3 separate regions of the Homo sapiens genome follow, and all the other regions are linked to region 2. Evidence: promoter capture Hi-C in human tissues and cell types (Jung and others, 2019). All regions are on one chromosome and are shown on one strand. The core of a region is centred on a gene start or on the middle of the fragment in contact, and the rest is flanking DNA. Distances in the headings are between cores, read along the strand shown. Region 1 overlaps PCNX1 (pecanex 1). Region 2 holds the start of COX16 (cytochrome c oxidase assembly factor COX16). Region 3 overlaps SLC10A1 (solute carrier family 10 member 1).

Evidence for each region. The method cuts DNA at HindIII sites, captures the fragments that hold promoters and counts their contacts. A contact is called where the count stands out against the background at its distance.
Region 1: a contact is called between a fragment that was not itself captured here and the fragment with the promoter of COX16 in region 2, in 1 of the 25 tissues and cell types used here (lymphoblastoid cells).
Region 3: a contact is called between a fragment that was not itself captured here and the fragment with the promoter of COX16 in region 2, in 1 of the 25 tissues and cell types used here (mesendoderm cells).

What each region holds. Positions count from the first base shown.
Region 1 is chr14:70,948,133-70,952,513 of GRCh38, reverse strand. The region is part of intron 2 of PCNX1 (pecanex 1); the gene reads right to left. LOC105370557 (a long non-coding RNA gene) reads left to right here. Exons shown (of 3, transcript XR_944008.3): 2 at 2,756-2,934. Among named protein-coding and RNA genes, the nearest start is that of PCNX1, 43 kb to the right of the region's middle. The HindIII fragment of the contact is 4,812 bases long and covers 294-4,381 here.
Region 2 is chr14:70,357,377-70,361,487 of GRCh38, reverse strand. It overlaps COX16 (cytochrome c oxidase assembly factor COX16), which reads left to right and starts at 1,805. Exons shown (of 4, transcript NM_016468.7): 1 at 1,805-1,969. The coding sequence starts at 1,901. The region is part of intron 3 of SYNJ2BP-COX16 (SYNJ2BP-COX16 readthrough); the gene reads left to right. It also overlaps the pseudogene RNU2-51P. RefSeq lists enhancers at 1,226-1,315, 1,776-2,085. The HindIII fragment of the contact is 8,811 bases long and covers 1-4,111 here.
Region 3 is chr14:69,772,861-69,777,049 of GRCh38, reverse strand. It overlaps SLC10A1 (solute carrier family 10 member 1), which reads left to right. Exons shown (of 5, transcript NM_003049.4): 5 at 662-1,634. The coding sequence ends at 768. Among named protein-coding and RNA genes, the nearest start is that of SRSF5, 7.8 kb to the right of the region's middle. The HindIII fragment of the contact is 3,910 bases long and covers 199-4,108 here.

The sequences.
Region 1 (4,381 bases), core at 1,450-3,949, 590 kb before region 2:
TATATTCAGGAATATCTACGAAGAGTGTGTAACAATAAAGAAAAGCAAGGGAGTTATTCACAAAAAATTCAAGATTATGGTTACTCCTGAAGGGAAAAGTGGAATGAAATGGGAGAGGAATGTCATGAAGCTTATATGGTATTTTTATAATGTTTTATTTCTTAAGCTGTGTGGTAGGTAATGAAGTAGTCACTTGATTATTGCTAACTTAGTGTTTGGAATACATATTTCACAATAAAAAATTTTTAAAGTAAAAGAAAATGGAAAAAACAATTCAGAAGCAATGACAAATATATATAATATCCAGAAATAATTAGAACAATTATCAAGTGTTACCATGTGTCAGGAATTATTCTAAGAACTCTCTATATATTATTTCATTTATTCATTGTAATAATCCTATGAGAGAGTTCCATTATTTTCCTCATCATTCTGACAAGAAAGCCAACTCAAAAGCTTAAGTAGCTTCTCCAATGTCTTACAATTAAGAAGCCTTGACTGACTGAGTGTGAAGTCTACATTCTGTCCACTTATCCACAATGTACGAATATGCATTTCTTAACAGAAATAGAATAGGCGTAGGAAATGTACAGAAACCATTTAAAAAATGTGAAAGGTTATAAGACATAAAAGATAAGTGAATAAAGAGATGATAAATAAAAACATAAGAAAATAAATGGAAATCTCTCATCTATATCCCTATTTTAAAAGTTGAGTTTCTACAATTTAATAGAATTGTCATCAAAATTCTAACGAAATTTTCTGGAGGATAAGCACACATGAAGATATCTCACAAAAGTAAGTATATGCATGAGAATAATCAAAATAATATCAAAAAAGGTCAGGTGTGGTGGCTCATACCTGTAATCCTAGCACTTCAGGAGACCGAGGCAGGCAGATTACCTGAGGTCGGGAGTCCAGCACCAGCCTGGCCAACATGATGAAACCCCGTCTCTACTAAAAATACAAAAATTAGCTGGGCGTGGTGGTGCATGCCTGTAATCCCAGCTACTTGGGAGGCTGAGGCAGGAGAACCGTTTGAACCTGGGAGGTGGAGGTTGCAGTGAGCCGAGATCGCACCACTGCACTCGTCTGGGCAACAGAGCAAGACTCCATCTCAAAACAAACAACCAACCAACCCCCGCCCCCCAAAAAAATAATAATATCAAAAAAGTAAAATACTGGAGTCACTCACAATGCTAAGTATTAAACATATTATAAAGCCACTATGATAAAAACAGTATGGTATAAATGAAAAAAGGCAGAAAGATGAAGCAGAAAACTAAGTTCAGAAACTAGCATAAGTATATACAGTATACTACATGAAAAAGAAAGCATCTAAATTTACAGGGAAAAAATTTGTTACTTAATGAATGGTGTTGTGATAAACAAACCTAAACAAATTAAGTTAAAATGTTTTCAAACTGACAACAATTTAAGAGTAAAAAGTAAAATGATAAAAATACTGAAAGTAGATACAAAGATCTTAATTTATTGTATATTTATATAATTTGAGGGAAGGAAAATCTTAGAAAACGTTATCAAAAGCAGAAATAACAAACACACAAAATTGGACCACAGAAAAATAAATTACAGGATATAAAGACACTGACAAATAAAATGCTATAAACTGAGGAAGAGTATTTGACACAGAAGAGCTAATATATTTTATTTAAAAAAAGTTCCAAAATCAATAGCAAAAAAAAATCCACCAATAGAAAAATATACAATTCACAGAATAACAAATATAAATGGCAATAAGAAAAATACCTCCATTTCACTAGTAATTCAAAAACGGGAATATTAAACAATAATTTATTTACATATTAAACAATATTAAACAATGAGATATCACAGTTTTTCAAAATACTAAATACTCAAGAGTTGTCAAAAGTGCAAAAAAAAGAGGCAGCTGAATTTCTGGTCATAGTCATTAAATGGTAAAATCTTGGGAATTTGGCAATACATATTGGAAAACTTATAAATGTGCATAGCATTTCTAGTAATTCCACCTCTGAAAAACTATGATAGAACATTTAATCATTGAAAATTTAAACATCACAGTTATCTAATATTTAAATTTCAAAATGATTGATATAATTTAAAATAGGATAAAATACATTGGCATAATGAGATACTGTGCATCATTAAACATAATATCACAGAATAATCGTTTTCACTACTTCAAATATTTGCTGAGTACCTATCATTGCCAGACACTGATTTTGGAACTGGGAATATAATAGTTTATAAGAACAATAAGGTCATTACCTTCAAGAAGTTCATCAATGCAAATAAATGTTAAGATAATTTCAGATAGTGATTAAGGCAATAAACAAAAATTATGAGGCTAAAATACGTGTTTAATTAACAAACAGGGTACTCATGTTAAGAATAAGGAAAAAAATGTAATTGAAAAGGAATAAACAAAGGCTTTCAATGCCCTGGAAAATATACAGAAATATCACCTGTCTTAAGAGAGGAGTGCCCACTTTTTCTTACATTATTTATGTCTTGATGTCTGAAATATTTCATATTATGCTCAGTGGAAACAACTGCTTAGATTATTTGATCTTTCTCAACTTGGTTTCCACATCTGTAAATCAGGGATAATAACAGCATCTACCTGCTAGAATTGTTTTGAGGTATGTCAAGTGTTCACAAATTTTCCAAGAGTTATATTAGGGGTACCTATTAATTTCTGTAAGGTCACAAACTTTTGACTATGAATAAAGTAGACACTTCTGTCAAATAGGTAAAGTGGAAAGTGGGCAAGGCCAAGGTCATGCTACAGAATGTGACTGAGCAACAGGGGGATCACTTCAGCTGGGATGGGAAAGGAAAGCCTCCAGGAGGAGTTGACATCGAATCACAGTTGAATCCTAAGAAGTCAGTCTTGCAAAGATCTAGGAAAGAAACAGCTAAGTTTCTAAGGTAAGAATATACAATTCAAACAAATTTACAATAGGTTAAGTAAAGTATACTACTTATAAATGTCAAGTAAAATATCACAATTTGCTTAAGGTGTGTGTGTATATATATACACATGCGTATGTGTATATTATACATATATACACATATATACGTGTATATATGTACATATATATGTACACACACACACATATGTATATACACGTATGTGTCTATATATGTATATATGCACGTGCGTGTATGCACGTGCGTGTATACACGTGTGTATCTACACACATATGTGTGTACACACGTGTGTGTATACACGTGTGTGCATACACGTGTGTGTGTATACACGTGTGTATATACACATACATATATCTATATATACATGTGTATATACACACTATGAGTAAATGCTGAGATGTATAAGCATTTATAAGTATATATACACATATACATATGTGTATATGTACATATATACACATATACGTATATACATGTATGTATATATACACATGTATATATACACGTCTATACATACATATATCTATATATACATGTGTATATATACACACACATTTTATTTATACGAGTAAATAAAAATGCTGAGATTTATAAGCATTTATAAGTGTATATACACATATACGTATGTGTATATGTACATATATGTACATATATACACATATATACGTATATACACGTATGTGTGTATATATACACATATCTATATATACATATGTGTATATATACACACATACATTTTATTTATACGAGTAAATAAAAATAAATGCTGATTTATAAGCATTTATAAGTATATATACACTATACATATATGTGTATATGTACATATATGTACATATACACATATATATGTATATACACTTATGTGTATGTGTGTATATATACACGTGTATATATACACATCTATATAGACACGTGTATATATACACATCTATATATACACAACTATATATGTGTATATATACACATCTATATATACACATATCTATATATGCATATGTGTATATATACACACACATACATTTTATTTATATGAGTAAATAAAAATAAATGCTGAGATTTATAAGCCATGCTGAATAATTTCTTTAGGCTGCTGGTTTTGGTCTCTAGTGTAAGTAACTATCATACAGTAGTGTATTTATCAGGGGAACCAGCCCCCAATATTTCAACGTAGGTTCTTTTCTATTTTCCCTAAGTGTTGGCCGGTCTGAGAAATAAAGGGAAAGAGTACAAAAGAGAGAAATTTAAAACTGGCTGTCCAGGGGAGACATCACATGTCGGCAGGTTCCGTGATGCCCCCTGAGCCACAAAACCAGCAAGTTTTTATTATGGATTTCAAAAGGGGAGGGGTGTATGAATAGGGTATGGGTCACAGAGATCACATGCTTCAAGGGCAATAAAATATCACAAGGCAAATGGGCAGGGCAAGGTCACAATGCCAGGGCGA
Region 2 (4,111 bases), core at 556-3,055:
TCTAGGATCTTAGGGAAAGTAGGAGATGTGATACGCTTAACTAACCTGGATGCCACGTGAGATTTATTTATTTATTTTTGAAACAGGGTCTAGCTGTGTCACCCAGGCTGCAGTGCAGTGGCATGATCACGGCTCACTGTAGCCTGGACCTCCTGGGCTCAAGTGATCTTCCCACCTCAGCTTCCCAAGTAGCTGAGACCCCACCATGCCTGGCTAATTTATTATTATTATTATTATTTGTAAAGATGGGGTCTTGCTTTGTTGCTCAGGCTGGTCTCGAACTCCTGGGCTCAAATGATCCTCCTGCCTCAGCCTCCCAAACTGCAGGTATTACAGGCATGAGCCACCATGCCTGGTCTGCATGAATTTTGAAATATCAAAAGGAAGTAAATAAGATGGGAGAGATGCACCGTTCCTGGGTTTCTGGAGGTATTGAAATACAGGTTGATGTGTAGAGTGGTGGAGCAAACTCCTATTCCATCTCCTTGCTTCAAAAACCCATTTAACATATTTTCCTTGGATAGAGAATGTGTCAAATATTAAACTGTTAAGAACAGATACTACACTTGATCTTAGCCAAAAGGATAAGTTTCACTGGAGTAGCCTGCAGTAGATCTGGAGCTTCTCTTCTGGAGACCACTTAAGAGGCTACTTTAATAGGTGAAAAGATGATAAGGAATTAAAAAAAGGAACATTTCAGTGGTAACAGAGAGGCAGGGACAGATGGAAATATTTCAGGAATAGCATGGAAGATAATATTCCGCATCACCTGCACTCTGATTCACTCTGGTAAATGGGACACGTGGGGGATCGGCTTCCTAAGCTATCCCAGTACTTCACACATGTTTGTTTCTGTGCCCATGAAATCGCCAGTGTCTTTAAGGTAAGGATCATATATTTTTATCTGTGTTCCTAGAACCCTTTCAAAGACACGCTGAAAGGTGGCCTGTATGGTTGCTGAATCATTGGTAAATAGACATTCATAAATGACTAAAGATTACAGGTTATCTCACAGTAAAATCATTAGCATTAAAAGTTCAGTAATGACTGATGAGACACTACACTGATTACATTTCAACCTAATCTTTCAAAAGCGATTTATTTTTAAAAGTCTCCATTAAACTGGCAAATTCCTCATCCCACAAATAGCCATAAAGACTGGAGTACCAGCTTCAAAATACTTTTTTTTCTTTTTTCTTTTTGAGACGAAGTCTCGCTCTTGTTCCCCAGGCTGGAGTGCGATGGCGCGATCTCTGCTCATTGCAACCTCCGCCTCCCGGGTTCAAGCGATTCTCCTGCCTCGGCCCCCCAGTAGCTGGGATTACAGGCGCCTGCCACCACGCCCGGCTAATTTTTGTATTTTTTTTTTTTAATAGAGACGGGGTTTTACCATGTTGACCAGGCTGATCTAGAACTCCTGACCTCAGGTGATCTACCGGCCTCGGCCTCCCAAAGTGCTGGGATTACAGGCCACCCACCCAGGCCACCGCGCCCGGCCTCAAAATACTTTTTTCCTTAGCTGATTTTATCGAGTGGCTATGTGCCTAAGGGAGTGTTCTAAGCAGACGTTAGTTAGGACCCAGAACGTGGGAAGTACTGGTTTCCAGATCAATTTGGTGGTGATCGTAAACCGATTCAAATCTCTAAATCCCAATTGCACGCCGACGTTACGGAACCAAAAACGCTGACGCCCACATTTCTGGGCGGACGCACAAGTATGTTACGATGGCTCGATTGCTTTTGCCTAGCGGAAACCATTCACTAAGGACCGAGCACCAAATAACCAAGGAAAAGGAAGTGAGTTAAGGACGTACTCGTCTTGGTGAGAGCGTGAGCTGCTGAGATTTGGGAGTCTGCGCTAGGCCCGCTTGGAGTTCTGAGCCGATGGAAGAGTTCACTCATGTTTGCACCCGCGGTGATGCGTGCTTTTCGCAAGAACAAGACTCTCGGCTATGGAGTCCCCATGTTGGTGAGTGGAGTGAGGAGGATCTTCCGCAAGGGGTGGGACCCTCCTCCTTGGCAGGATCAAGACCTGGGAGGGAATCTGTAAAATGTGAAGTTAAGGGCTGGCACTCGGGCTAGGAAGGAGCTAGCGACGGGGTGAGAGCTTTCCTAAAAGCTCTTCCACCAGTCTTTTCCACACCCCCACTTCCCCGCCGCTGTCCCCCACTCCCGGTTGGATTTCAGGTGTACTAGGATCTGTCTGCTTGTGAGCGTGGCGTCTTTCCCATCGTCGAACGCGGTCATTGTTACTACCCTTGATTCACAGTTAAGTAAATTGAAGCTCAGAGAATTCAGTCAGAACCACACTTTAAGCCAAGTTTGGATGATTACTAAGCTTGCTTCCTCGCCCCCAACTTAGCTATGTTTTGACGATACTGTGGATCATTGGGACTAGATGTATTCCATTTAACTGCACGAATTCCTGGTATCTTTCTGTTTCATCTTTCTAGTTTGTGAATTAGCTTAATACTTAGAGTTGTGATGAACTAATAACACCTTGTGAATAAAGTGTTGAGTACGGTGCCTGCCACATTGTAGCCAGAATGATTGCTGTGTTATAATTTCTAAAGCACGTTGAAAACAGCTTCCGTGTTTATATGGTTTCATCCATATCCACACTGAGTTCCCTAAGGATGTCATGAAATGCAGGCTGAGGCTGGCTTAAGACAACCAGAGTTGAAATCCAGATGACTCTTATTTGCTTTTTGATTACGGGCCAGTTATTTTGCTTCAGCAAGCCTTGATGTGTTAGTAAATGAAATAATTAAAGCATATGAACAAAAGCTGCTTTTAAATACAGACTATATTTTTATTTTGTATGAATGTTGGCGCAGATGAAATTACCAGCTTTTCCATTTAAGCAGACTAAAGGAAAGAAGTGATCTTAGAAAGGTAATGGATATTTTACACAGTTTTGAAAAATCCACATTCATCAAATGTGGATTTTAGGAATCTCCAAAAGATTCACCCATTTGAAGTATCTGGGCCAAGCACGATGGCTCACACCTGTAATCCCAGTGTTAGGGGAAGCCAAGACAGGAGGATCGCTTTAGGTCAGGAGTTCCAAACCAGCAAGACCTCTGTCTCTCCAAAAAAAAAAAAAAAAAAAAAAATTGTTGTTTTTAGCAAATTCGATATTAGTATACTAATATATTCGTATATTAGTATATTCTTAGTTATGGAGCCATCACCACAATTTTAGAACATTTTCATTGCCCCCAAAAAAGCATCATAACTAATAGTAGTCACTTCCCATTTCTTCCTGCCTCTTAATGCTGGCCTGGTAAACCACTAATCTACTTCTACCCGTAAATTTGCTTATTCTGCACATTTCATATTAACACACTAATACAACGTGGGTTTTTTGTGACTGGATTCTTCCACTTAGAATGTTTTTAAGGTTCATTCACATTGTAACATATATCAATACTTCATTCCTTTTGATGGATATAATTCCATTGTTTGGATATATTTTATCAATTGATGAACATTTGGGTTGTTTCAATTTTTGACTATTATGAATAATGCTGCTATGAACATTTATGTACACGCTTTGTGTGGAAGTATGTTTTCATTTCTCTCAGGTAGGGAATATACCTAGACGTGGAATTGCTAGGTCATATGGTAACTCTTCAACTTTTTAGGATGTGCCAGATGTTTTCCAAAGTGGCTGCATCATTTTACATTCCCACCAGCAAGATATGATTTTCAATTTCTCCACATCCTTGCCAACACTTGTTATTGTCCATCTTTTGAATTATTACCCTTTCTAGTAGGTGTGAAGTGATACCTCATTGTGGTTTTGATTTTCATTTCCCTAACGACTTATTATGTTGAGCATCTTTTCAAATGTTTATTGGTCATTTGAATATCTTTTTGGAGAAATGTCTGTTCAAATCCTTTGCCCATTTTTTAATTGGACTATGTTTCCTTTTATTGGACAGAGGTTTCTTTAAAACCCAAAACCAACAAATCTGCCAGTCTTTGTCGAGAGGCTCTGCATGCTTTTTTGGGCATGCTTTCAACATTCAGCCATGCAATTTACAGCTCCATGTATAGCCTTCACTTCTTACTTGCTCAGAGCTTCAAATTAGTCATAAGTTGAGAA
Region 3 (4,189 bases), core at 904-3,403, 580 kb after region 2:
TGAAAAGAACTTTCCTCACAGTGTATCTCAGAAGACCCCAGTGGAAACACTAAATCAAAGCAACGTATTTCTTTGGACCTAATGGCCCCAAGAAGCTATTCTCAGGGGGGAGGAATCTGTCAAGTTTTTATACTTTTCATTCCTGCACCTGATGGGAGAACAACTCTGTATAGAGAACTCTCCCATCTGTATAGAAAGGTGCAGGAATCAAAGCTATCTTCAAATTTGCATCACCGCCTACACCACGGACAAGAAGAGGTAGATCAATTGGGGGTTGGAGGGAAGAACTGGAAACTCTCTTGGTTAGACTTTCTCGAAGATCTTTCCTGCCTGCCTCCTCATTCCCTGAATGCAACACAGACCTTGCATACATAAACTCATCTCCTGTTGTTTTACTGTATAACGAAGTTAGAAGTGAAGTGATGATGAAGACACAATAGTCTAATTCATTAGGACTTTTACTACTAGTACTACCATTAGGGAGACTGAGGGGAAAGTGAGTTTAAAGAGTAAACCATGGGAGAGACGACAGAGATGGAAAATATATACTTAGCACACTCTAGGGCTGAGTTGGTATTTTTGTACTTTCCAGATTAAACAAGCTTCATTGTTCACTCCTCTTGTTCTCTCTCTACACCTGTAACCCTTTTTAACTTTACAGATAAAACAAAAATGATCTACACAGCTGCCACAACTGAAGAAACAATTCCAGGAGCTCTGGGAAATGGCACCTACAAAGGGGAGGACTGCTCCCCTTGCACAGCCTAGCCCTTCCCCTGGTGGCCTGGATTCTGGTCCCAAAGCAATTCTGAAAGCCAGTGTGGTAAACTAGAGAGAGCAGCAAAAACACCAGTCTTGCCTGAGTCTTTCTCCAGCATTTCCAGTACATCTATCAGAATCATCAAGTCTTGGCCGGGAACACAGACAGGGTGTCTACCCAAGAAGCCTCACCTATCCCCAACTTAGAATTTGCTACTTATTTTAAAGACTTGTTCAGTGACTGTAAACTCTATGAAACCAGAAACCGAATCTGCCTCTTGCTGGGATCTCTAAAAGTGTCTGATAAGCATCTTAAAGTCACTCAATTCCTGAACTAATCAATATATATGTTTAACCCATTACTCAAATACCCAAATCCCATTCCAAGTTTTGTGACCCAAAAGAGAAATAAATGCTCACAAGTGCTGTAGAATTAAACTTCAGAAGTTCTAACCTAAAAAGTTCAGATCCTATTCCTTCCCTTTTGACATTATTGGGATGATGCTCCCGAAAAGTCAAATTTGACATCAAGTATGCAAAAGTGAACACAGTAAGATGCAATCAGGCAAAACAAACTCAAAAAATAGCTAATGAAATGAAAAAACTGGGCGAATGCATCATGTTAGTAGAGGAGGAAAACTTTTGACAAGGAAAAACCAGGAAACAAACACATACATTAACACAATGTTACCTCACTAATAATCTCTTTTTTAAGTTCAGTAGGTATTTGGTTTTAACACAAGGCGCCCCCAAAACTGGGTACAGCAAACTACTGCCAAAATGAGTCGTTTCCCAATTCAAAGAAAAATGTTCAAATACCTAGAATTCACAAATTTCAAATTGTCTCTAATAAAATTTAAACATTTTGCATATCATATGTAAATAAGGATCAAGTAAATGATTAACAACTAATATTAACAATTACAAAAAGTCAATCATGCTTATTAGTTACTTGGGATTTTTATCATTTTGTATGGTCAGGTACAAATGAAACCAAGACAATATAGTTTTCGGGTATCAGTTTGGCAAATGTGCAGGACTAACAAGTACTCCCAACACCAAAACGAGAAACACAGATTTGGGTTACTAACATCCTCTTAAAAACGCAGATTTTTGACAAGGCTACCACCTATCATTTTTACTTATTATATCCATATATACCTACCTGTTCAAATTGTTTTCTCTATTATCTAACCAACATCATCTGCTAGGAGACTTGGTTACATACAAGTTATGTAAGAACACATTTGTTTAGCTTTTGAGGAAGACAGGGTTGGCCTCAAACCATTCTTAGAAAGGAATAAAGATGGCCGGATGCAGTAGTTCACACCTGTAATCCCAGCACTTTGGGAGGCCGAGTCGGGCAGATCATGAGGTCAAGTGATTGAGACCATCCTGGCCAAAATGGTGAAACCCCATCTCTACTAAAAATACAAAAATTAGCCAGGCATGGTGGCACACACCTGTAGTCCCAGCTACTCGGGAGGCTGAGGCAGGAGAATCACTTGAACCCCAGAAGCAGAGGTTGCAGTGAGCCGAGATAGCACCACCGCGCTCCATCCAACCTAGCAACAGAGCAAGACCCTGTCTAAAAAAAAAAAAAAAAAGCAAGGAATAAAGATGAAACTAATATAAACATAGAAAACAAAGGTTAAACCATGCCCTACAAAGGCAGGTCCTAAACCTTTCCTTAGGATTACATCCACACTCCTCATGGTATCTGAAGCCTGGTTTTGAGAGTCCCTTTTTGAGACATAATTGTTATCTCCCTGCCATTTTTTTCAAAAGAAGGAATTTATCGTACTCCCTAACACCTCTAAGATTAAAAGTAGCTTAATTCTTGGCTGGGCACAGTGGCTCACACCTGTAATCCCAACACTTTGGGAGGCCAAGGCAGGCAGATAGATTATTTGGAGTCAGGAGTTCAAGACCAGCTTGGCCAACATGGTCAAACCTCATCTCTAATAAAAATACAAAAATCAGCCAGACATGGTGGTGGGATATTCCAGCTCCTGGGAGGCTAAGACATTAGGATCACTTGAGCCTGGGAAGTGGAGGTTCCAGTGAGTCAAGACACCACCACTGCACTCCAGCCTGGGTGACCAAGCAAGACTCTATCCCAAGAAAAAAAAAGAAGACTGGCAGAGTGGCTCACGCCTGTAAACCAAGCACTTTGAGAGGTTGAGGTGGGTGTATCACTTGAGGTCAGGAGTTCGAGACCAGACTGGCTAACAGGTTAAAACCCCGTCTGTACTAAAAATACAAAAAAAAAAAAAAAATAGCTGGGCATGGGGATGGGCACCTGTAATCCCAGCTACCTGGGAGGCTGAGGCAAGAGAATCGCTTGAACCCAGGAGGCAGAGGCTGCAGTGAGCCAAGATCGCCCAAACTGGGCAACAGCAAGACTCCATCTCAAAAAAAAAAAAAAGTTTGTCTGATTGTCTAGGGGTAGAGGGGAAGAACATCAACATACTACCATACTGCACTGAGGAGCATGTTTTAAAAGCCCAAGGGTGAGAAGCTGCTTTTGATAGCAACTTCAGGCTAAGTACTGCCTTCAGAGACGCTAAGAAAATCTAGATTTAACCATTTATTAAAATAAACCTAGTTCTCTCAACTAATTCAACAGGTATACCAACTCCTAAACTCAGCCTCTTACTGCAATTAGCAGTTTTAAGCTTCCGTGGCCTGTTCTAGTCTTAGAAACAGCTGGGGAGTGGCCTTTTAAAAATTAAGGATACCAAAAACCTTTCAATTCTCCCAAATGGAGATTCCCACTTCCCAATCCGCATGCTTTCGGGAAGCTAAAAGCTACATTTTTCTAGTGCTTCTAATTCTGCCTTCTTCCAAATCCCTGAAAAGCTAGGGGCAAAAATCTTTACGTGAACAGTGACAGTGTGGTGTGGGGGTCTTAGGAATCAGACTTCCTAGATTTTAACACCAATCCATCCCTGTTCTTTGAAAAATTCCTGAATTCCCACCAGTAAAATGATGGTATTAGATTCAGTCAACACAGAGGTAATGGCACTTAAAACAGTGCCTGGCTATTACTATCAGATGCTATATAGATGTTATTCACTGGTTCCCAGTATTTATGTAGTCTAGCCCCCACAGAACTAAGAATATATCTAAGTGTCTTGAGACTCCTGTATTAACAAAGCTCATTTTCTACACATCTAAGACAGGGCTTGAAAGATCACATATAGAAGTCTAAGGTTAATGTGGATATAGGACCTTAGGCATTTTGCACTATTGTTTTCCCTTAAACATGTACTATCCCATACATATCTCAAGACAAAAAGTAGCATGTCAAAGCCCCTTAAGCATTCACGTTATCTGACCACCAAAACTGCATCACAACTGGATAAAGTGGTTCACACCTATAATCCCAGCACTTTGGGAGGCCAAGTTAGGAGAATCACTTGAGGCC